Regions from separate parts of the Homo sapiens genome. Here regions 1, 2, 3, 4, 6 and 7 are each linked to region 5. The links are contacts of gene promoters, found by promoter capture Hi-C in blood cells and fetal thymus (Javierre and others, 2016). All regions are on one chromosome and are shown on one strand. The core of a region is centred on a gene start or on the middle of the fragment in contact, and the rest is flanking DNA. Distances in the headings are between cores, read along the strand shown. Region 1 overlaps MRPS14 (mitochondrial ribosomal protein S14). Region 2 has its middle 3.4 kb from the start of SUCO. Region 3 has its middle 80 kb from the start of FASLG. Region 4 overlaps SUCO (SUN domain containing ossification factor). Region 5 holds the start of GAS5 (growth arrest specific 5). Region 6 has its middle 64 kb from the start of FASLG. Region 7 has its middle 100 kb from the start of FASLG.

What was found. Contacts are between HindIII fragments. The CHiCAGO score rates a contact against its expected background, and 5 or more counts as called.
Region 1: a fragment that was not itself captured here is called in contact with the fragment with the promoter of GAS5 in region 5 in 1 of 17 cell types (neutrophils); the score reaches 7.8 in neutrophils.
Region 2: a fragment that was not itself captured here is called in contact with the fragment with the promoter of GAS5 in region 5 in 5 of 17 cell types (activated CD4 T cells, total CD8 T cells, non-activated CD4 T cells and 2 more); the score reaches 6.4 in activated CD4 T cells.
Region 3: a fragment that was not itself captured here is called in contact with the fragment with the promoter of GAS5 in region 5 in 2 of 17 cell types (monocytes and total B cells); the score reaches 7.6 in monocytes.
Region 4: a contact is called between a fragment that was not itself captured here and the fragment with the promoter of GAS5 in region 5, in 1 of 17 cell types (monocytes). The highest score is 5.1, in monocytes.
Region 6: a fragment that was not itself captured here is called in contact with the fragment with the promoter of GAS5 in region 5 in 5 of 17 cell types (naive B cells, monocytes, total B cells and 2 more); the score reaches 7.3 in naive B cells.
Region 7: a contact is called between a fragment that was not itself captured here and the fragment with the promoter of GAS5 in region 5, in 1 of 17 cell types (naive CD4 T cells). The highest score is 6.5, in naive CD4 T cells.

Annotation. Positions count from the first base shown.
Region 1 is chr1:175,013,945-175,016,885 of GRCh38, forward strand. It overlaps MRPS14 (mitochondrial ribosomal protein S14), which reads right to left. Exons shown (of 3, transcript NM_022100.3): 3 at 1-907. The coding sequence ends at 725. Among named protein-coding and RNA genes, the nearest start is that of MRPS14, 8.0 kb to the right of the region's middle. The HindIII fragment of the contact is 1,233 bases long and covers 684-1,916 here.
Region 2 is chr1:172,528,207-172,531,246 of GRCh38, forward strand. No RefSeq gene overlaps it. Among named protein-coding and RNA genes, the nearest start is that of SUCO, 3.4 kb to the right of the region's middle. The HindIII fragment of the contact is 1,005 bases long and covers 830-1,834 here.
Region 3 is chr1:172,737,900-172,740,819 of GRCh38, forward strand. No RefSeq gene overlaps it. Among named protein-coding and RNA genes, the nearest start is that of FASLG, 80 kb to the left of the region's middle. The HindIII fragment of the contact is 5,998 bases long and covers 1-2,920 here.
Region 4 is chr1:172,587,631-172,590,496 of GRCh38, forward strand. It overlaps SUCO (SUN domain containing ossification factor), which reads left to right. Exons shown (of 24, transcript NM_014283.5): 18 at 1,130-2,296. Among named protein-coding and RNA genes, the nearest start is that of SUCO, 56 kb to the left of the region's middle. The HindIII fragment of the contact is 1,529 bases long and covers 771-2,299 here.
Region 5 is chr1:173,866,595-173,869,455 of GRCh38, forward strand. It overlaps GAS5 (growth arrest specific 5), which reads right to left and starts at 1,395. Exons shown (of 12, transcript NR_002578.4): 1 at 1,366-1,395; 2 at 397-449; 3 at 167-202. It overlaps ZBTB37 (zinc finger and BTB domain containing 37), which reads left to right and starts at 1,786. Exons shown (of 5, transcript NM_001122770.3): 1 at 1,786-1,811; 2 at 2,331-2,526. SNORD75 (small nucleolar RNA, C/D box 75) reads right to left here and starts at 344; the gene lies at 285-344. SNORD74 (small nucleolar RNA, C/D box 74) reads right to left here and starts at 1,151; the gene lies at 1,080-1,151. It also overlaps SNORD76. RefSeq lists a silencer at 1,821-2,230 and an enhancer at 1,865-2,861. The HindIII fragment of the contact is 5,638 bases long and covers 1-2,861 here.
Region 6 is chr1:172,721,835-172,724,705 of GRCh38, forward strand. No RefSeq gene overlaps it. Among named protein-coding and RNA genes, the nearest start is that of FASLG, 64 kb to the left of the region's middle. The HindIII fragment of the contact is 6,552 bases long and covers 1-2,871 here.
Region 7 is chr1:172,762,644-172,765,379 of GRCh38, forward strand. No RefSeq gene overlaps it. Among named protein-coding and RNA genes, the nearest start is that of FASLG, 100 kb to the left of the region's middle. The HindIII fragment of the contact is 2,855 bases long and covers 1-2,723 here.

The DNA.
Region 1 (2,941 bases), core at 50-2,549, 1.1 Mb after region 5:
CACACTGTTGAGTTACTGAATGAGAACTTTGTGCTACCCTTACTCATTTCTGTTATGGATTAAATAAACATAAAAATAGGGAATATATACTGTTCCAACAAACTTTTCCTCTTTAGATGGAGACTTTCAAGGACTTAAAGAGGCATAATTTGTTTTAAAGTCCCTTAAGGATGGACAAGAAAACACTTAGTGGTTCTTTTGTTCAGCCATCACAAGAAGAAGTGGAGCATTAGATAATCCAGAACAGCAGCCTTGCTATCCAATCTGTTTATCTAACAATAATAGTTAAGGGGAGCTCTGCAGGTCAGCAAAGCTAGTCCAGGATTACAAACTGCCATACATGAGCTACATGTCAATTAGTTGGATTATGTATAAGATAGCATTTTATGAAATAATGCTCTTAATACAAAAACCCCTATATGTTACTAAAAGATTAAACTTAAAAGGAGGGTATAAAAAACATTCACAGAAAATATTTATTATGCTACTCTTTGTACTATGTATGGGAACAGTATGTTTGTTAAGTCCAAGAGAAAAGATAATTCACTGACATGAAACACCCAAATGTCTTCATTTTAAAAGTAGTTTAGAGATAGCATCAGGTAGGCCAAACAACTGTACTGGGCCCCTGTAGAGATTAGGGTTTGGTCTATTAAAAAAAATCTTTGCTTGCTGGAACTGCAAGCTTGGCTTCCCTGCAAGCTCAATAGGTTCTGGAGCTCATTTACCATGTCGCTCGCTGGATCCCAGAAAGTTGCCCATGGTCAGCTAAGTGACGGAAGACTATACGACTAAGCCTCCAGCGCCGCTTCACACCACGCGGACGGGACGTCATAACACACCGATTTCTGATTCTAACAGGACAGCTATCCCGGGGGAGGGCAGCAATTTCTTCATCAGCCACATCCTAAGGGAAATCACATTATTACACAGATCACATTACATTGTTGCACATGTATTTTGCTCCTTCTCACTTGCAGGTAATTTTCTTTTCTTTTTTTTTTTTTTTTGAGACAGAGTCTCGCTCTGTCACCCAGGCTGTGGGTGTTAGATTGTGCAATGTCACAATCTCAGCTCACTGCAACCTCCGCCTCCTGGGTTCAAGTGATTCTCCTGCCTCAGCCTCCCGAGTAGCTGAGATTACAGGTGTGCACTACCACACTCAGCTAATTTTTTGTATTATTAGTAGAAACGGGGTTTCACCACGTTGCCCAGGCTGGTCTCAAACTCCTGAGCTCTGGCAATCCGCCCATCTCTGCCTCCCAAAGTGCTAGGATTACAGGTGTGAGCCACAGCGCCTGGCCACTGGCAGGTAATGTTCATTGCATGAGTACCATAATTCATTTATCCATCCTACATTTGATGGTCATCTTACGATTTGGGCGAATATAAATAGTGCAGCTACATACTCTTGTTTAACTCATTTGTAAAGTATGTGAATGTATTTCTGTTGCCGCCTCATGTTTTTTGAATCACGAAAGTGAAACCTCTGGAATGATGATCAAATAGGAGGGAATGTGGCTTGAGATAAGACTAGAGAAGGAGGAAGGAGAGTATCACATGGAGCCCTGATGTCTATGGTAAAGATTCTGACAGCTAGAGAAGTAAAGGGGAGAGATCAGATGAGGTTTATATTTAAAAAAAATCATTTGCAAGGTAGAGGATGAATCAGGTAAGGGCAAAGTGGTTGAGGGGAGAAAAGTAGGGATTACAGCAGTAGCTAGGGCTCAGGTTTTGTCAGTAGAGATTTCTTCTTATGTATGTGTTCAAGAGTGTGAGTGTTCATAATATTCACTTTAATCTGATAAGTGTGCTAACAAGTAGATGGACCCTGTGCTAGACTGCGGTGCAAGCAAAATAACACATTAAAATAACACAAATTAAATGAAAGTATATAAAAGCCAAAAATTAACAAAAGCTTATGCATGTGTTACCATTATGAACTAACAGAATTACATAAAACAACATGATTGCCAGGCACAGTGGCTCACGCCTATAATCCCAGCACTTTGGGACGCCGAGGCAGGCGGATCATCTGAGGTCAAGAGTTCGCGACCAGCCTGACCAACATAGGGAAACCCCATCTCTACTAAAAATACAAAATTAGCTGGGTGTGGTGGCACATGCCTGTAATCCCATCTGGCCGGGAGGCTAAGGCAGCAGAATCGCTTGAACCCAGGAGGCAGATGTGGTGAGCCCAGATTGTGCCACTGCACTCCAGCCTGGGCAACAAGAGCAAAACCCCATCTCAAAAAAAAAAAAACAAAAAAAAACCATGATTGAGCCATTGAGTAGTAAACAATAAATGCTATACAAGGAACTGGAGAGGAGAAATGACTGGGCAAGAAGATTGAAGCCAAGTTTCATGGAGGTGGACCTTAAAGAATGGCTAGAAATTATGGATTGATTGATTGATACATACCCCTTCCTTCTTGTTCCCCGAAAGATTTAAGGCAGTTTACAAATGAGGAAACTGGGGCAAAGAGAAATGAGAGTAGGAAAGATAAAAGCCTCAGGACACAAAAGTGCATGCTGTGAAATTAGAACTGGGACATAAATTTGACTTGTAAGCTACTTGGCAGGCAGCAGAGAACCATGATCAGTTTACATGATTCACAGACTCTGCACAGTTATTGCTGCTAGTCATACCAGAGACATGTCTTCTGGGTATCTTCATAAAGGTACTCAAACAACACACCCCCAGCTGTATTAATGTATAGTTGACAAATAAAAATTGCATATATTTAAGGCATACAATGTCATGATTTGCTAAACATATACATTGTGAAATGATTACCACAATGAAGTTAATGAATGCATCCTTCACCTCACAAAATTACCGTTTGTGTATGTGTGGTAAGAACACTTCAGATCTACTCTCTTACCAATTTCAAGTACACAATACAGTACTATTGACTATAGTTACGGTGTTGTGCGTTAG
Region 2 (3,040 bases), core at 82-2,581, 1.3 Mb before region 5:
TATTTTAATAACTGTATTTCCCTACAATTAGTTTCCTTGGTAATCTATGTGTTTTATTTTATACCTTTATAAACATTCTGAAAAGGGTTTTACCAGACTACCAAAAGGGTTCAGTTCAGAAGATTAAGACTCCCTGCTAGAACGCTAAACTTTTCCTGGAGCAAATTTCTGTCTCAGCATCTTTAATACAAAAAAGGCTCAATAAATATTTACTGAACACTTTATTTCTCCAGGTTACTTAGGGTAACTAGAACCTAGGAAAATCTATTCAGACATAAGTCAAATAATGTTATGCTAAAAAGCTAATTTGGTAATTTATAGAGAAAGAAATAGTTGGCTAGGTGCTCTAGACTAGTCAACTGCATAAAACGTTCTCATCCTAAGGGCTTGCTACTTCTAGGAATTTAAATTATAAGGCAAATTGTAATTTAAGGTGATTAGACAAAGAAATAAGTAAAAAGTAAAAAATTATTTCTTGGGCCTCTGTAATAAAAAAAGTCACTGTGTGATATATATCAATAAAACACATGACCTCTCTGCAATAAGGAATTTATTCACTGCTTGGGGAGACAAATGACTATTAAATAAAAACAGTGTCATGAGGGCAGGCACAGGTGTTTCAGGTCATAATAAACAGTGTGGTCTGGTGAGAAGGTTGAGTTATGAAAGAAAACAGTGGGAAATAAAGCTTGAACTACATCAACTGGGTTTGATTATGGAAAGCTTTGAATGCCAGGCCAAGGAGGCAGGACTTTATTTCACAAATACGTCAGACCTGTAGGAGATTTTTGCATCAAAGAAAGGACATGATGAAGATAATGTTTTAGGAAGCTTCATCTGAGAGCGTTATACAGGAGGTACTAAAGGACGCATCAGTTACAATCCCCAACATGCTGCTTCAGTTGCTACTTTCTCTCCCTATTTTGAATCTTGTACTTGTAAATTCTTGCTAGATACTTCCACCAGAACCTCAATACTGTGCTTCCAAAACCATACTAGTCTCTTAAATTGTAAATCTGCAACTCCTGACTTTCCTACTCATATAATGGCACATACGTTCTTAGAAATTGGACCATCTTTGATGTCTCCTTCTCTGTCACCCACATGTAATCATTCCCTTCCTCTAGTTGATTCCATTATGAGCCTATTCAATTCATGTATCTTCAAAATAAACATATGTTAACGCAGTGATAGAAGACTGAATTTGGGATCACAAAGTAGAATTTTTAAAAAGGGAAATCTTACCTTTTGTTATTTGCAGTAAAAACAGAACCGTGCATGCCAACATTGCACTCTGTGATCTTCCCGCCCTCAGATCTTCCCGCCCTCAAGAGACTGAGTTCTCAGACTGTACTAATAAAGCAATCTATGTCTTCTTCTGATTTCTACCTTTACCTCCTGAAGTGGCCAAATTACCAGTGCTCTGTTAAGGTAGATTAGGCTAAGTAGTTAAGGCTCTTTTCAGGTAGGTAGTAACTAAATAAAGAAGGTATATGCTATTCTACACACATATTTATATATATAAAGAAGATGATCGGGGGGACAGTTTTAAAAGTTCTGTTTATACTTTTTATGCGGTTAAAATGTTAAGTGCTGATTGCCACATTCACCATTTTTCCATCTTATTTAGTCTCTTTTATTGTCCATTTGTCTGTTTTCCATTCCCCAACCTTTCTTTGACTGATTTCCAGGAAACTTCTGTTTTAACTGACTTTTACTCTGGAAGCATCTAAATGTCATTGGTCTCTAAGATCCTTTGGAGACATATAGGATCTCAGCATTTTGTAATATTGAAAGGAGCAGGTAATTTTTCAACTAAATCAAAATACATAAAAGCTTGCTCATGAAATACCACCATCTTAGACAACACAGTTCTCTTGGGTGTCTTAAATATGATTTGTATATGAGATAAAGAACAAACGAGATAGCCAGAAGGGGTTGGTTCCTTTTCTAAGGTCTGCTTGTTCTCTTTTACCATAAGCAAACAGAGTATCTGATCTTTATCAAGGCAGGGACTTGAGCTGCCCAGAGTTTCTGGTTTAGTCACCCTTTTAGGAATGGGAGAACTCATGTTCATTGTGCAGTTTAGGCCCTAGTGACTTGCTGAATAATCCAAGGATCTGCAGGGCAAACGAGTTATCCTGTGTGTGGTCAGTGCTTTATAGATTTTATTGAATTGGGAGATTCTGTTACAGCAGGGTTTCTCAACCTTGGCACTTTTGACTTTTTGGCCAAATAATTTTTGTTGTGGAGGGCTTTCTTGTGCACCGTAGGATGTGAAACAGCATCCCTGGCCTCTACTCACTAGATGCCAGTAGTACTTCTCCAATGTGACAAGCAAAAAATGTGTTCACACAATGCCAATCTCACCCTGGGGGGAAGTCTGCCCCAGGTTGAGAATTACTGTATTATAGTTAAGGGGTGGTTGATAGTGGTTACTTAGCCTAAGCCTTAAAAGATTATATATATAATTAAATATTATATATGAAAGATTATACATTATACATGCTCTTTTTCTATATTCTTTCTTGCCATTTTTGGCATATGTTATACTTTTAAGTATGGTGACATTCATCTATACTAGTTTTATTTTATATAACTATTACTCACTTTCTTATACTTGTCTATTGAGTTGTAAGAAAATTTTCTCTGTTCTTTTTCTCATTATATTTAACAGATATGTGGAAAAATGTCTACCAGTTCTTTAAAGGTCAGCTCTATGGAACTTCTATTTATTTCATCTGAAGTCTTAGAATAGGAAAGAATCAACACAAATATAGAAAGTCACGTGAAGAAGCTAATTTATGGGGAAAATGAGTTCAATTTTGTGCAGGTAAAATTGGAAGTGATAGAATAATATGTCCAGCAACTACTTGAAAAGAGGATGGGATATAGGTTTAGGAGTCAACAGTATAGTTGAAAATTAAAATTGCTCAAGAGAAAAATGGAAAAAGCTCGGAGTAGTGAAGGATTAAACCTTAACATGAAACCATGGAAATGAAGCTGCAAAAAGAGAAAAGAACATTTATAGATTGAAATA
Region 3 (2,920 bases), core at 254-2,753, 1.1 Mb before region 5:
TTATTTCTCTATTTACTATTCTTTGCCATGCTTTATATTATAGGCATACCATGCCTTCAGCAAGTCATAATCTTTTTGCTGGTGGAATATTACATTGAATCTGTAGATCACTTTGGGTAGTATGAACATTTTGATATTGATTCTATAATACATAAACACAAGATATCTTTCCATTTATTTGTGGTTTCTTTTTCTTCCACTCCTTTCATTAATGTTTTAAAGTTTTCAGTATACAGATCTTTCATCTCCCTGGTTAAATTTATTCCTAAGTATTTTCTTCTTTTTGATGCTATAGTAAATTGAATTGTTTTCTTAATTTCTTTTTTGAATAGTTAATTGTTAATGTATAAAAATGCAACTTATTTTTGTATGTCGATTTTCTGTTTTGTAACTTTAGTGAATTCACTTGTTAGTTCTAACAGTTTTTTTGTGTTTGGAGTCTTTAAAGTTTTCTATATATGGCCACGTCATCTGCAAAGAGAGACAATTTTACTTCTTCTTTTCTGATTTAGATGGCTTTTATTTCTTTTTCTTTCATAATTTCTCTGCCTAGGACTTCCAGTACAATGTTGAATATAAGTGGTGGGAGTTGGTATCCTTATCTTGTTCCTGATCCTAGAGGAAAGGCTTCCAACTTTTCACTATTGAATAGAATGTTAGCTGTAGGCTTGTGATATATGACCTTATCGTGTGGAAGTACATTATTGCTAAACGCAATTTGTTGGGAGTTTTTGTCATAGAAGCATACTGATTTTTTTTTCAAATGCTTTTTCTGCATCTATTGAGATGATCATACAATTGTAATCCTTCATTCTGTTAATGTGGTGCATCACATTTAGTGATTTACATTTGTTGAACCATCCTTGCATCATAGGGATAAATCTCATTTGATTATAGTGTAGGATTCTTTTAATGTGCTGTTTAATTCAATTTGTAGCTGTTTTGTCAGAGGATTTTTGCATTTACGTTCATCAGGAATATTGACCTGTAATCTTTTCTTGTAGTGTCTTTGTCTGACTTTAGCATCAGGATAGTACTAGCCTCATAAAAATCCCTTTGTAAGTTTTCCCTCCTCTTCGATTTTTTTGGGAGAGTGAGAATGATTGGTATTCATTCCTCTTTCAATGCTTAATAGAATTCACCAGTGAGGCCATCTATTATTGGGCTTTAATTTGATGGGAGATTTTTGATTCCTGATTTAATCTTATTACTCATTATTGGTATGTTCAGATTTTCTATTTCTTTTTGTTTCAGACTTGATAAGTTTTATGTATATATATATATATATATATATATATATATATATATATATATATATACACATACATATTTAGGATTTATCCATTTCTTATAGACTGTTCAGTTTTTTGGTGTATAATTGTTTCTTGTAGTCTCTTACAATCCTTTGTATTTCTGTGGTATTTGTCATAACGTCTCTTCTTTCATTACTGATTTTATTTGAGTTTTCTTTCTTTTTTTCTTAGTGTAGCTGAATTTTAAAAATCTTCTCAAAAAAACCTTTTGGTTTCATTGATCTTTTATATTGCTTTCTAGTCTCTGTTTCACTTATTTCTGCTTGGATCTTTCTTCTATCAACTTTGGGCTTAGTTTGTTCTTCTCTTTCTAGTTCCTTGAAGTGTAACATTAAGTTGTTTACTTGAGTTCTTTCTTTTTAATGTAGGCATTAACTACCGTGAACTTCCCTCTTATAACTGCTTTTGCTACATCCCTTAAGTTTTAGTATGTTTGTTTCCATTTTTGTTTGTCTCAAGATATTTTAAAATTTCCCCTTTGATTTCTTTTCTTTACCCATTAACTGTTCAGGAACACATTATTTAACTTCCACATATTTTTGAATTTTCCTGTTATTAATTTCTATTTTCATACCATTGTGATCAGAGAAGATACTTGGTATGATTACAATTTTCTAACATATTTAAATACTTCTTTTGTGGCCTAACATATGATCTATCCCAGAGAATGTTTCATGTGCACTCAAGACAAATGTGTACATGCTTCTGTTGGAGAGAGTGTTTTGTATACATCTGTTAGGTCCATTTGGTCTAAAGTGTAGTTTAAGTCCAATATTTCCTCATTGATTGTATGAATGATCTATTAATTGTTGAAAGTGAGGTATTGAAGTCCTCCACTATTATTGTTTTACTGTCTATTCCTCCCTTCAGATCTATTAGTATGTGTTTTATGTATTTAGGCACTCTGATGTCGCCTGCATATATATTTATAATTGTTATATCTTCTTAATATATTGATTCCTTTGTCATTAAAAATTGCCTTCTTTGTTTCTTTTTACAGTTTTGACTTAAAGTCTATTTTGACGTAAGTATAGCTACATTTGCTATCTTTTCCTTTCCATTTTCATGGAATGTCTTTTTCTATCCCTTCACTTTCAGTCTATACATGTCCTAGAAGCTGAAGTAAGTATCTTATAAAGAGCATATAGTTAGGGTTTAAAAAAATCCATTCAGGGCTAGGTGTGGTGGCTCATCCCTGTAATCTCAGCACTTTGAGAAGCTGAGACAGGCAGATCACTTGAGGTCAGGAGTTTGAGACCAGCCTGGCCAACATGGGGAAATGTGTCTCTACTAAAAATACAAAATATTAGCCAGGTGTGGTAGTGTGCACCTGTAGTCCCAGCTACTTGGGAGGCTGAGGCAGGAGAATCACTTGAACCTGGGAGGGAGAGGTTGCAGTGAGCTGAGACTGTGCCACTGCCCTCCTGCCTGGGTGACAGAGCGAGACTCCATTTCAAAAACAAACAAACAGACAAACAAAACCACCCCATTCAACCACTCTATTTATTTTGCTTAGAGAATTTAATCTATTTACTTTCAAGGTAATTATCAGTAGGTAAGAACTTCCTATTGCCATTTTGTTAGATTTCTCTTTCTTTCTTTCTTTC
Region 4 (2,866 bases), core at 285-2,784, 1.3 Mb before region 5:
TTTTAATTTGGTCCATTTACTGTTTTACTACCAAAATGAAAGTCTACATCATAGATACTATTTTATTACTTTCTTCTGTCTTTGCTATTGTGACATTAGTCTTTATTTGAAGACATTTCCTGGCATGCTTAGTAATTTTTCAGAATGGGAAAATGTGTGTTTGAGCATAATTATTTTTGGTATTGAAATTACCATATTTTTTCATATTGGACTTTTTATGTATAAGGCTACACCCAGTAATTAACTATCTTTATCTTGGAAGGAATCACAAGCATTATAATTTATAACACTGTCCCCATAAGCTTCATCCCCCCACTCTCCTGTATGCCACATACATACTCCACAGCCTCAAAATGGGATAGAATATTAATAGTGGCACTAGTAGTTTAATAGCAGCACTGTTAGCATATCATAAGCCAGAATTGTTATTAAAGTGGTTAGGTATTTGGCTTAGAAGATTAGCCTAGATGATAGCAAAATTATTTTAGGAAGGGAGATATGTTTCTTGTCCTTAAAGTAGATAATCCTATGTGTGTAGGTGTGTGTGTGCGTTGTGTGTTTAATGCTGTATTGGAGTTCCTCAAATCATTCTTAGAAAAATTATGTTTGAGACCAACCTAGCTGCCTTTTGAAAATAGGGTATTCAAGTACAAAGTGCACTCATAAATATTAAGAATCCTAGATTCTAGTTTTAGCTCTGGACCTTATTTAAGCTAGTTTATTAAGCTAGCTCTTAGTTGGCTTAATTTCTGATGTGTAAGGGATAGTGAAGCTTGTAAAGATTCAGTGAATATTTATGAGAGGAAAGGAACACTACATTCAGTGAATGGAAGTATTCACTTAGAAACAATTCTTAAACAGATTAAAAGAAAGCAAGTTTGATATGGTAAATATGGTGGTTTGAGTCATCTGGCTAGTCACTTGATAAATAGTATTTCTCTTATCATTTCTGAGCAGTATTTGTTTTTATAATAAAAGTGTTTTGTAGGTGAAACATTTATCCAAAAACAAATTTCTTCTATATTTCCAACCTTTTATCTTCTGTATGGATACATTTATTTTTCTTTAACATATTTCAACTTTAGACTTCTAAGTAAGTGATTTATAATTATGATATATGTATTTCTAGGTATGTAACCACTGAAGTACACACACATGACATGGAGCCGTCAACACCAGATACTCCAAAAGAGAGTCCCATTGTACAGTTAGTTCAAGAGGAGGAAGAGGAGGCAAGTCCATCTACAGTGACCCTTCTGGGCAGCGGTGAACAGGAAGATGAATCATCACCCTGGTTTGAGTCAGAGACACAAATATTTTGCAGTGAACTGACCACAATTTGTTGTATTTCTAGTTTTTCAGAATACATATATAAATGGTGTTCAGTTAGAGTTGCTCTTTATCGGCAGCGCAGCCGAACTGCTTTGAGTAAAGGAAAAGATTATCTTGTGTTAGCTCAACCACCCTTACTACTTCCTGCGGAATCAGTAGATGTTTCAGTATTGCAACCTCTGAGTGGAGAATTGGAAAATACGAATATAGAAAGGGAAGCTGAAACTGTTGTTCTGGGTGATTTAAGTAGTAGTATGCACCAGGATGACTTGGTGAATCACACTGTAGATGCAGTTGAACTTGAACCAAGCCATTCTCAAACTCTTTCTCAGTCTCTTCTTTTAGATATTACCCCAGAAATCAATCCCTTGCCTAAAATAGAAGTATCTGAGTCTGTTGAATATGAGGCAGGACATATACCATCACCAGTGATTCCCCAAGAGAGTTCTGTTGAGATCGATAATGAAACAGAACAAAAGTCTGAGAGCTTTAGTTCTATAGAGAAACCATCTATTACCTATGAAACAAATAAAGTTAATGAGTTAATGGATAATATTATAAAAGAAGATGTGAACTCCATGCAAATTTTCACAAAGCTGTCTGAAACAATAGTGCCACCAATAAATACAGCCACTGTACCCGACAATGAAGATGGGGAAGCCAAAATGAATATAGCTGACACAGCAAAGCAAACTTTGATTTCTGTTGTGGATTCTTCTTCATTACCTGAAGTAAAAGAAGAAGAACAGTCTCCAGAAGATGCCCTTTTGAGAGGGTTACAGAGGACAGCTACAGATTTTTATGCTGAATTGCAAAATTCTACAGATCTAGGATATGCTAATGGAAATCTTGTACATGGATCAAACCAAAAGGAGTCAGTATTTATGAGACTTAATAATCGTATTAAAGCCTTAGAAGTTAACATGTCTCTCAGTGGTCGCTATCTGGAGGAGCTTAGCCAAAGGTAAGCTTTATTATGAATTAGCACAGTCAGCTTCACACAGTGAGTTAAGCAGCATAGAGTATGACCTGTGATTACAGGAGAGGATTTAATTATCTCATGATATAATAGAGGTAAGCGCAATTTTAGCAAGAGAGAGAAAGAAAGCTACTTGAATGCTGATCAGTGCCTTAATGAATTGATTTTTTGTTTTTAATTTTAAAAGTACTTTCCAGTGACAAAACACTTTTATTAGGCTGGCAACAAGTTTGAATTATCTATACTCACTTTCACCTTTTTTCGGTTGCTTAACTTTAGCCACTTTTTCTGCTTGATTCCCAGAGGGCTCATGGAAAAAAATGATAGTATATAGACCTTAAAGCTTTTAGTGGAATTTGACCAGATATCACTTAAGAGTTTAGATAAGTGAAGACAGAGATGGACTGAACTGGATGATTGGGCACATTTGCAGTTTGCTCTCTTTTAAACAGGTCTCGGCATCCTAGTTCTAGTTGTAATAATTTCTGCTTTTAAGTGCCAGAGACAGTGCCAATTCATTAAGACACCAGGCCTGGCTTTTTAAACCTATTTACT
Region 5 (2,861 bases), core at 145-2,644:
TAGGTGTACTCTCTATGTTCCCCAACTCACCATTTTGGGTGCCTCAGTTAAGATAATGGTGGTTAAGATCCTCATCATTCTAGCACTCAAGAGTAGCAAATAAACTGTCATCATTGTGGCACATCCAATGGCTTTAAACCTTTTTGAGAGGGAATTTTCAACTTACTTCAGTAGCTATTCTCATCCTTCCTTGGGGACACAACTAGAAAACAAAAAGATGCAAGCAAAACAGTGAGAATGAACCTCACAGCAGTCACGTTAAATATAAATGCTGTTAACATTAAAGCCTCAGAATAGAATTTCAGAAATCCCTTCTGTCCACTACTCTTAAAGCATCACAGGCTGAGACCACCTCTTAGATTTCATTCTTCCCACCATACTTTCCCCAATTCTTACCTGTCCATAAGGTGCTATCCAGAGCCACACTGCATCTGCACCCAGCACCATACCTAAAGAGATCAGGTACAGATTTTAATTCATTGTTCCACGGTTCTTTTTTTTAAAGAGTGTTCTTTAAAAAAACGGTTCGTCTTTTTAAACCAATGATGCAGGTAACATACCATTCATTATCTAGCGACAGGTAAAGGATACACTTAATGTTACAAAGAAGCACTGCACCCGCAGTTAAGAACCACCGATGGCGGCCGGGCGCGGTGGCTCACGGCTTGTAATCCCAGTATGTTGGGGGACCACGGCTGGTGGATCACCTGAGGTCAGGAGTTCAAGACCAGTCTCGCCAACATGGTGAAACCCCGTCTCTACTAAAAATATAAAAGCCTAGCATGGTGGCGCGCGCCTGTAGTCCCAGTTACTTGGGAGGCTGAGGCAGAACTGCTTAACTCGGGACGCGGAGGTTGCCATTAACCGATGTCGAGCCACTGCATTCCAGCCTGGGTGACAGAACGAGGCTCGGTCTCAAAAAAGAAAAAAGAAACACTAATGGAAATATTGGTGACACTGCGGAATGCAGGCACTTAAGCACGTGGACTACCACCGACAGCCTTTCATGAGAGCGGACGGCTGATGGAGGCTCGGGTCACGGCCCTTAACAATAGCTTACTCGGGTGACTCGGCATGTGCCACCATCAGAGCGGTTGGCATTCATCATTACTCTCAGATGTCCCTACCAACACAGGCTTCATCAGAGGCAGGGCACGAGAGCCGAGGCTTCTCCGCAGTTCTACTCTAACATAGTCGCAGCTTAGGTCACGCATGCACCATATGTGCAATCCCCCACCATCCTCAACTTGTAGGCCCTGCAAAGGCGCGCGACTGGCTTAGAAGTCCCAGTCAATTCAGGGTGACCTTAGCAGACAAAGGCTGGAGCGCCCCAAAACCCGCAACATTCGCAAAGATAAAACATACCTCACAGGAGTCGACTCCTACCTCGAAAAGACAGTATGGTGCCTGGGCTCCTGTATATAAGAGTTCTTTTGATGACGTCACGACGCACGCTCCCGGCAGCGTCCGCTTCGGCTCCTCCCCCTAACCTCCCTCAATCTTCCTCTCATCCAGTATCACCTTCTTCCCACCCCTTAAGTCCGCCCCTTTTCCCCGCCCTTCCTCGCCATTGTGGGCAGAGACATGACCGTCCACGTGATGCCGTGCTCCCGCCCTCCTCCCGACTGAGGAGGAAGAGCAGAGAGGGGAGGGGGCGCGAGGCAAGGAAAGCTCTGGGGATGGGGGAAGGGGGGGCGGTGTAAGGCTGAGTGATTTCCTTCCGGCACGTCGCCCGCTCCGTGGGAGGGGGTGGGGGATTTCACTTCCGGGACGGTGTTCCGGCCCATTCCGGCCCATTTCCACCCCCGGAGGTAGGTGCTGCTCCTTGACTGGACTCGGGCCCCACACCCCAGTGCCACTTCCCTGCACCGGGGTCACCTCGCCCGCCCTCCGCCGCAGCGCGCTCCTGGGGCGCTCAGCTACTTTCCTTCACCCCGCCTCCAGGCACCGGGCGACCTTCCACCCCCTTGGCCCCCGGCCGGGCTGATCTGCCGGACCCGCCCCCTCGCGGGGCCCCTCCCTCAGGACCCCGGGAAGGGCGGCCCCCTCCCCCACCGCAGCCGGGACACACCCAGATACGCACACCCACCTCCTGGCAGCTCCCCGCCCGCCGCCGCCTGGAGCCGGTCCCTGGGCGCCGCCCCCTTCCTAGTTCTCACCTGAGCGCTGGCTCCCCCGCCCGACGCCTTGTCCCCATCTTCTCCGAAGTTCCTCAGTGACATTTTGCCCTTTAGCCAGTTCCCCTCTCCCCAGGCTTCCTAACGCAGAAGAAAGCTGCTCAAGTGCTGGAGTGGCCAACCCCATGCCGTTCCCAATTCTCCCTTTTACAGCTCTCACCCCTCCAGTGCCGACGGTAGCGAAAGACTTTCCTCCAGGGGCTTCCTCACTGGGGAATTGCCGGAAAGAGCAAACAAAAAAGGCGCTGGTGTAGGCTCCAAAATAAACACATCTGAATTCATGATGGCATCGACAGAGGCTCTTATTGGATTAAAAGTTTCAAAACAAACAATAACGCTTTGGAAAAAGGTCAGATTGGCTAAAGTTGATTGTTGAAAACAGTGTATACACTTCCCTATTTAATAAGTGTGTTGTTAATGCGGGGCAGTACTGTGAGCTTGGCAGAGTAAGTTCCTGAAGTTTCAGGTGTGGTGTAACTATGTAATATATAGATAAGTGAACGCACATTGGGCTTAAGTAAATGTCTTCCTGTTCGGATTTATACAAACTATTTTCAGTAGTTGAAACTGTACTTTCAACTATCTTGTATACAGCTTCAGGTTTAGTGTTTCAGCCATTTTTTAAAAATATTTTAATGGAAAAATGTTGGCATACTTGGTAAATGCTGTATTTTTTCATCGGAT
Region 6 (2,871 bases), core at 35-2,534, 1.1 Mb before region 5:
TAACCAGATACACAGAGAAGGCCGGAGGTAATTCCACCAACTCAAAGTGTTACAATTTTCTTAGCGCTTATATAGGTTGGGGCTATGTGCCTATGTGCAGTATAGCATTCGCCTAAGTCTATTGGTAACTGATTCTGTTTCAACTAGAAGGTCAGAGGCAAAAATTGCTTGCTAAGTCCAATTAAAAGGGCCCCAGTACCTTCAAGGCCTGTCTACTGCGGTACCAGAGTGATTATTTCTATCTCATCTCCTTTACAGCTTGGTCCGGAGAGCTGCCTTAGACTCTCCGATGAATCTATTCAAACAGCTGCCTCTGTTACCTTGACTTGTCTCAGATTTTGTCAATGCAAGATGGGTCCTGGCAGTAGGAATGTAAGACTGTCTCTATTATTTTGGTTTGCTCCAGGTTAGGGAGAAGCCCATGCAAGGTTCCTACTGACCATATGTTTCATTTCTAGTTTTGATGTCTGGGCATTGATTTCCCTAGGTTTGACTATTTGCTCAATGGTAAGACAGTGCTATGGAAATTTGTCTGTGTAACTGGAGTGCTATGTAGGCCTGTCTGTGTGACTGTCATGCAGGCCTGTCTGTGTGATTGTCAGGGAGAATTGGCCTGCCACAAAGCCATCTGTAAAATATCCTACTCTAAGGAATAATTTCTAACTATGTTGCTGATGGGAATTTAAGAGTTATTCACATACAAATAAGAATAGTTACATGTAACTAACTTTTACTGACTAAAATGTGTATTTTACAGGCAGGGCACAGTGGCACACACCTGTAATCCTAGCACTTTGGAAGGCCAAGGCAGGCAGATTGCTTGAGCCCAGGAGTTTGAGATCAGTCTAGGCAATATGGCAAAGCACTGTCTCTATAAAAAATACAAAAATTATCCAGGCATGGTGGTGCATTCCTGTAGTCCCAGCTCTTCAGGAGGCTGAGGCAGGAGGATCACTTGAGCCTGGAAGGTTGAGGCTGCAGCGAGCAGAGATCGTGCCACTGCACTCTAGCCTGGGCAACACAGCAAGACCCTGTCTCATACACAAAATATGTATTTTAGTGTCAGACAACAATAATATTTTGATAGTAAGCATTTTTCTCTTTAGCTATTACTATTCCATGTTGCAGACATCAGTTTTGTGTTTCGCATGTTAAAGTTTGAAGTGGCCTTAAAGGACATCTAGTTTATCCCAGTCCTTGAATGTAAACAGATTTTAAAAACGAAGAAGCGACAATCCAGGTGGGCTGGAACTTCTCCACATGAGGTGCAAATTATTAGCAGGGTAGAGCGTAAATCTCAGATCTGACTTCCCATCGCATGTTCTTTCAGATATTGTGGCTTGATTGGCCTTATTCCAGACCCTTGGAAGTCCAGGTGTCAAGAGTAGGGAAGGCCTTTTTCAGTAAGAACTTTGCAGTCTAGTGGAAAAAAACAGGTAAGGACTGAACTCTGACATTTTTACTTTCTCAGATTTCTTTTTAAGGGCCCACAGGGAGTCAAATCTACAAGACATAAAATTATGTTAAACAAGTTTTTTTGACCCAGTATATTGTGGCTTACTTTTGCAACCAGACTCTGGTATGGCATCATGTAACAGAAAACAGACCCCCTTGTCTTAACTGAAGCATTCCTTTCTACTGACTCCAAGTTTTTAGACAAAGCTCAACTCTTTCAACCAATTGCCAACTAAATAATCCCTAAACTCACCTGTGTCTTGTAAGCTCTCACTGCCAGATGTCCTGCCTTTTTGAATAGACTCAATGTACAACTCCCATGTATTCGTTTATGTTTTGACATGCAATTTCTGTCTCCCTCCCAAACGTTAACCCAACTGCCTTGGGCACACTTTCTCGGGACCTCTTGAGACAGTTTCCCCAGGCCATAGTCACTCATATTGGCTCAGAATAAACCTCTTTAAATATTCTGGCAGAGGTTGATTTTTTTGTTGTTACCAGTAACTGGCACCTATACTAAAAGAATGTAATTAGGGATACAGTGAATATATAAGCAACACACATGTTTTAGGAAAACAGTTGAAGAGATACTTTACTCTTCCTGAAAAGGATTAAGGAAGTCTTATAGAAAGTGTTTTTTTATATATAGCAGTATTCATTTTCAGGACTCTGAAATAACAGGGAAATCTCCCAGGAGCTTTGGTATGGTGACCCATAAATAGTGACCTGAAAGCATGAGTATGAGATGCTTTTAGCAATTTCAGTCCAATATGCATAGCACAGTCTCATTTAAGAACAATATATGTGTATGTCATGGACATAGAGAATGGAAAAATAGACATTGGAGATAACAAAATGGGAGAGTGGGAGGGACATGGTAAGAGTTGAAAAATTACCCATTGGGTACAATGTTCACTATTCAGGTCATGGGTACACTAAAAGAACAGACATCACCACTAAGCAATATATACATGTAAGAAATCTGTGCTTGTACCCCCTAAATGTCTAAAAATTTTAAAAATTAAAAAATAAAAAGAATATTTGTGTATTTGTGTGTGTATAATCACAGAAAGAAGTCTCTAAAGTTATATAACAAAATGACTGTAGTTTTCTGGGAGTGGGAGGGGTGGGGTTAAGATGAATAGGGGTGGGGTAGGCTCAAAGCATTCTGGGAATGAAAGTGAAACTTCTTTTAGTATTTATGTCCTTTTTATGTGATGAAATTATGTGAGGTTTTTACTTTACTGTGCATATTTCAATTAAGAAAAAGATGTGCAAGTCTCTTTCATCCTTGTTTTCTTCCATGGGTTTCAAATCAGAATCCTTTGTACTCTTGATGTAATGGCAAATATTTTGGGGAAACAATTTATTTTTTAATTCTCTCTTTATTAGAGCTCCTCCTCTCAAAGATTCTGG
Region 7 (2,736 bases), core at 46-2,545, 1.1 Mb before region 5:
AAGACAGGCGGGTTCCTCAAGTCCATACATAGCCACGTCCTCCTAAACACGCCTATTGCCATAACTTCTCCTATGTCCTCAGAAAGTGGGAGGAAGAAAGGAAGAGACATAAACGGTTTTGAGATCAAGTTCACCCTTTAGTATTCCCTAGGTTTATTATATGTGTTAATAAAAATGGGGTTCTGTTCTTGTTTCTGTAGTTGACTTTGGGAAACTTTTGAAGAACCTAGGTGTTTTTTTGTAATAAAGTACCTGTTGGCATTGTGGGGACTAAACTACTTTGACTGTGTTTCCGTAATATGAACATAATATATAATCGTTGCTTTCAATCATTATAAGTTTATTGTTCTAGGTTCTGTATTTGCATGCTGACATGATGTAATTGGTTCAGCTCATTTTTTTTTGTTTGTTTTCATGAAGATTCTTCCTTGGAAGTTAGATTTGTCATTCTCTAGTGAGCTATTCAGAAAGCACAGTTGTATTAGGACAGCAAATTATTCATGAAAGTAATGATTCTGGCAACCTGACAGAAGGGAAAACCAAATACCCAAATGAATAAATCTGTTTTCCCCTTTCCCACAAGTTCAATTCGTCTCTATCCCACAGAATCCACTGTAAGGCTACAGAAGGTGCTGTCCCTGATCCCAGCTGGGGAATTCCTTGGTTCTTTCCAACAATTATGGTTTACCAAAATTGTCCTTACTCTGTGCTATGATCTATGTCATCGGTAACATTGTGCTTTCTCAAGGAATTGTCTGCTTATGGACTTGTCTGCTTACTAGACTTAGAGCTCCTTGAAGACTTGGGTAGCATTTTCTTCATCTCTTCATTCTCAGGGCTGGTACATTGTAAAGGAAGGCTTTACCTAGGGGTGCCCAGGAGCTTAATTTGCATGCCCACCTCAGGAAACTTGCTATATGAGGACAGACCACAGGTACTGTTTGCATTAGGGTCTCCTGGGCTAACTAGAGAGAGACATTCTGGAACTGATGATACCGAATAAAGAGTTATTTAGATAGAGAACAATGACTTGCAGGATAGGAAGAGAGATGTCTTGGGAGATGGGCAGTGAGTGCCACTAATATAAAATGTCGTGGTGGCTGGGATGCTGGCTTATAATTAGGGGGATCAGTTTTGAGTTGATCCTAGTATGGTGTTACTTTAATGCATTCTGGCCTAATCTTTGGGACTATGTCCCGGATTCTTTGATAAAGAACGCTGTGAGATAAAGCATTAAACCTCCTTTGGGTATTGACTCAGAGCTAGGGCAGGGGATGTAGGCATCATATTGGTGAGGCTTGCAACTACTGTGGGCTAGTCTCTCACTTCTGGTGGGAGTTGGGGTCCACAGCCAAGTGGTCACCATTTTATTGAGAAGAACACCAGCTGTAGGGATAGAACCCACAGTGACAGACATCAGCATCCATTCAACAGAGCAGTAGACACTGGGTTACTAGAGAAAGGATGAGACTTGGGAGCCTTGGAGCCATGTCAACACAGTTCAGAGGCTGAAGAGATCAAAGATACTTTAGTTGCTACCCAGCATAGGCCAGGGGGCTTGGGTTACAGCTACCTAATTGTATAATCATAGACACCTTAAGTCAGGCAGTTGGCTTGATAAACAGATGGAAAAGCAGTCAGCTTTCTTAACAATCCTATCATTCCACCCTTTTAGTGAGAACAAATAATTTGGTAGTTCCCCAGGGAAAATCATGCTCTTGGGCAGAGATGCCATTTTCCCATGAGGGAGGTGTGTTTGACCAAGTCTATTCTCTGTATAAAAGGTCTCTTCAGATTAGATCAGATGCACAGTTGGGGTTTGCGTAGGGGCAACCCACAGGTGAGAAGCACCTCACTTGGGTTTGTATTTGAGTGGGCTGAGCCAATGCAGAACATTGTGAGGAGCCTAATGGGCTTCAGAACGTCAGTTTCAGTCCCATGTGACTGGTTGGCTGGCTGCCCACCTGCTGCTCTGTCTCTAGCAAAGCTCAACATTCAACCTTTGAAAGTGTTCTCACATGTAGATCCTGTTTATGTAGGAAGTTTGATCTAACGCCCACAGTCACACAAGTGCTTTAATTACATACTGGAAGGGTATCCTCTTGCTCCTACCCATGTCTCAATACTGCACAGAGCAGATATGCTGCTGTGTTCTCTACACCTTGAATTTCTAAAGTGGAATCACCTCCCACAAAACTGTCCATCTCTCAGTGGGTACTGTTCTGACCAGCTGGCCTATGTGGTTTGCATTGCTGCCATGTTGGGGGTTATTGATTAAAAATAAAATAAAATTAATCAAGATGAATTGCTTACTTCTCTCCCTTAGATTTCTTTTATTTTGATGCTCTTATTCCACTCCTCTATTATCTTTATACTATATCTCTCTTTAGTAAACCAGAATGAATTGCTCAAAAAATTTGTTATTCAAATATGAGACATCTTTTAGTTTACAAATTATTTTCTTGAATTGCAACACATTTTCTTTTGAAAATGCTGTGGTAACTAATGACCCCCAAATCCAAGTGGGATATACAGGTTTGTTTCTTGCTCAAGTTACATGTCCATCATTGACCAGTTGAGGCTCTGGTCAATGTCATCTTCATTGTGGGACCCAGGATGCTGGTGTGGCCTCTAACCGGGATGCTGCTGGGCTCATGGGAGAAGGAAGTAGGGCCTAGTGATCACATGCTGTCTCTTAAAGTTTCTTCTTGTAAGTGAAAAGAAGCTTTTGAAGCT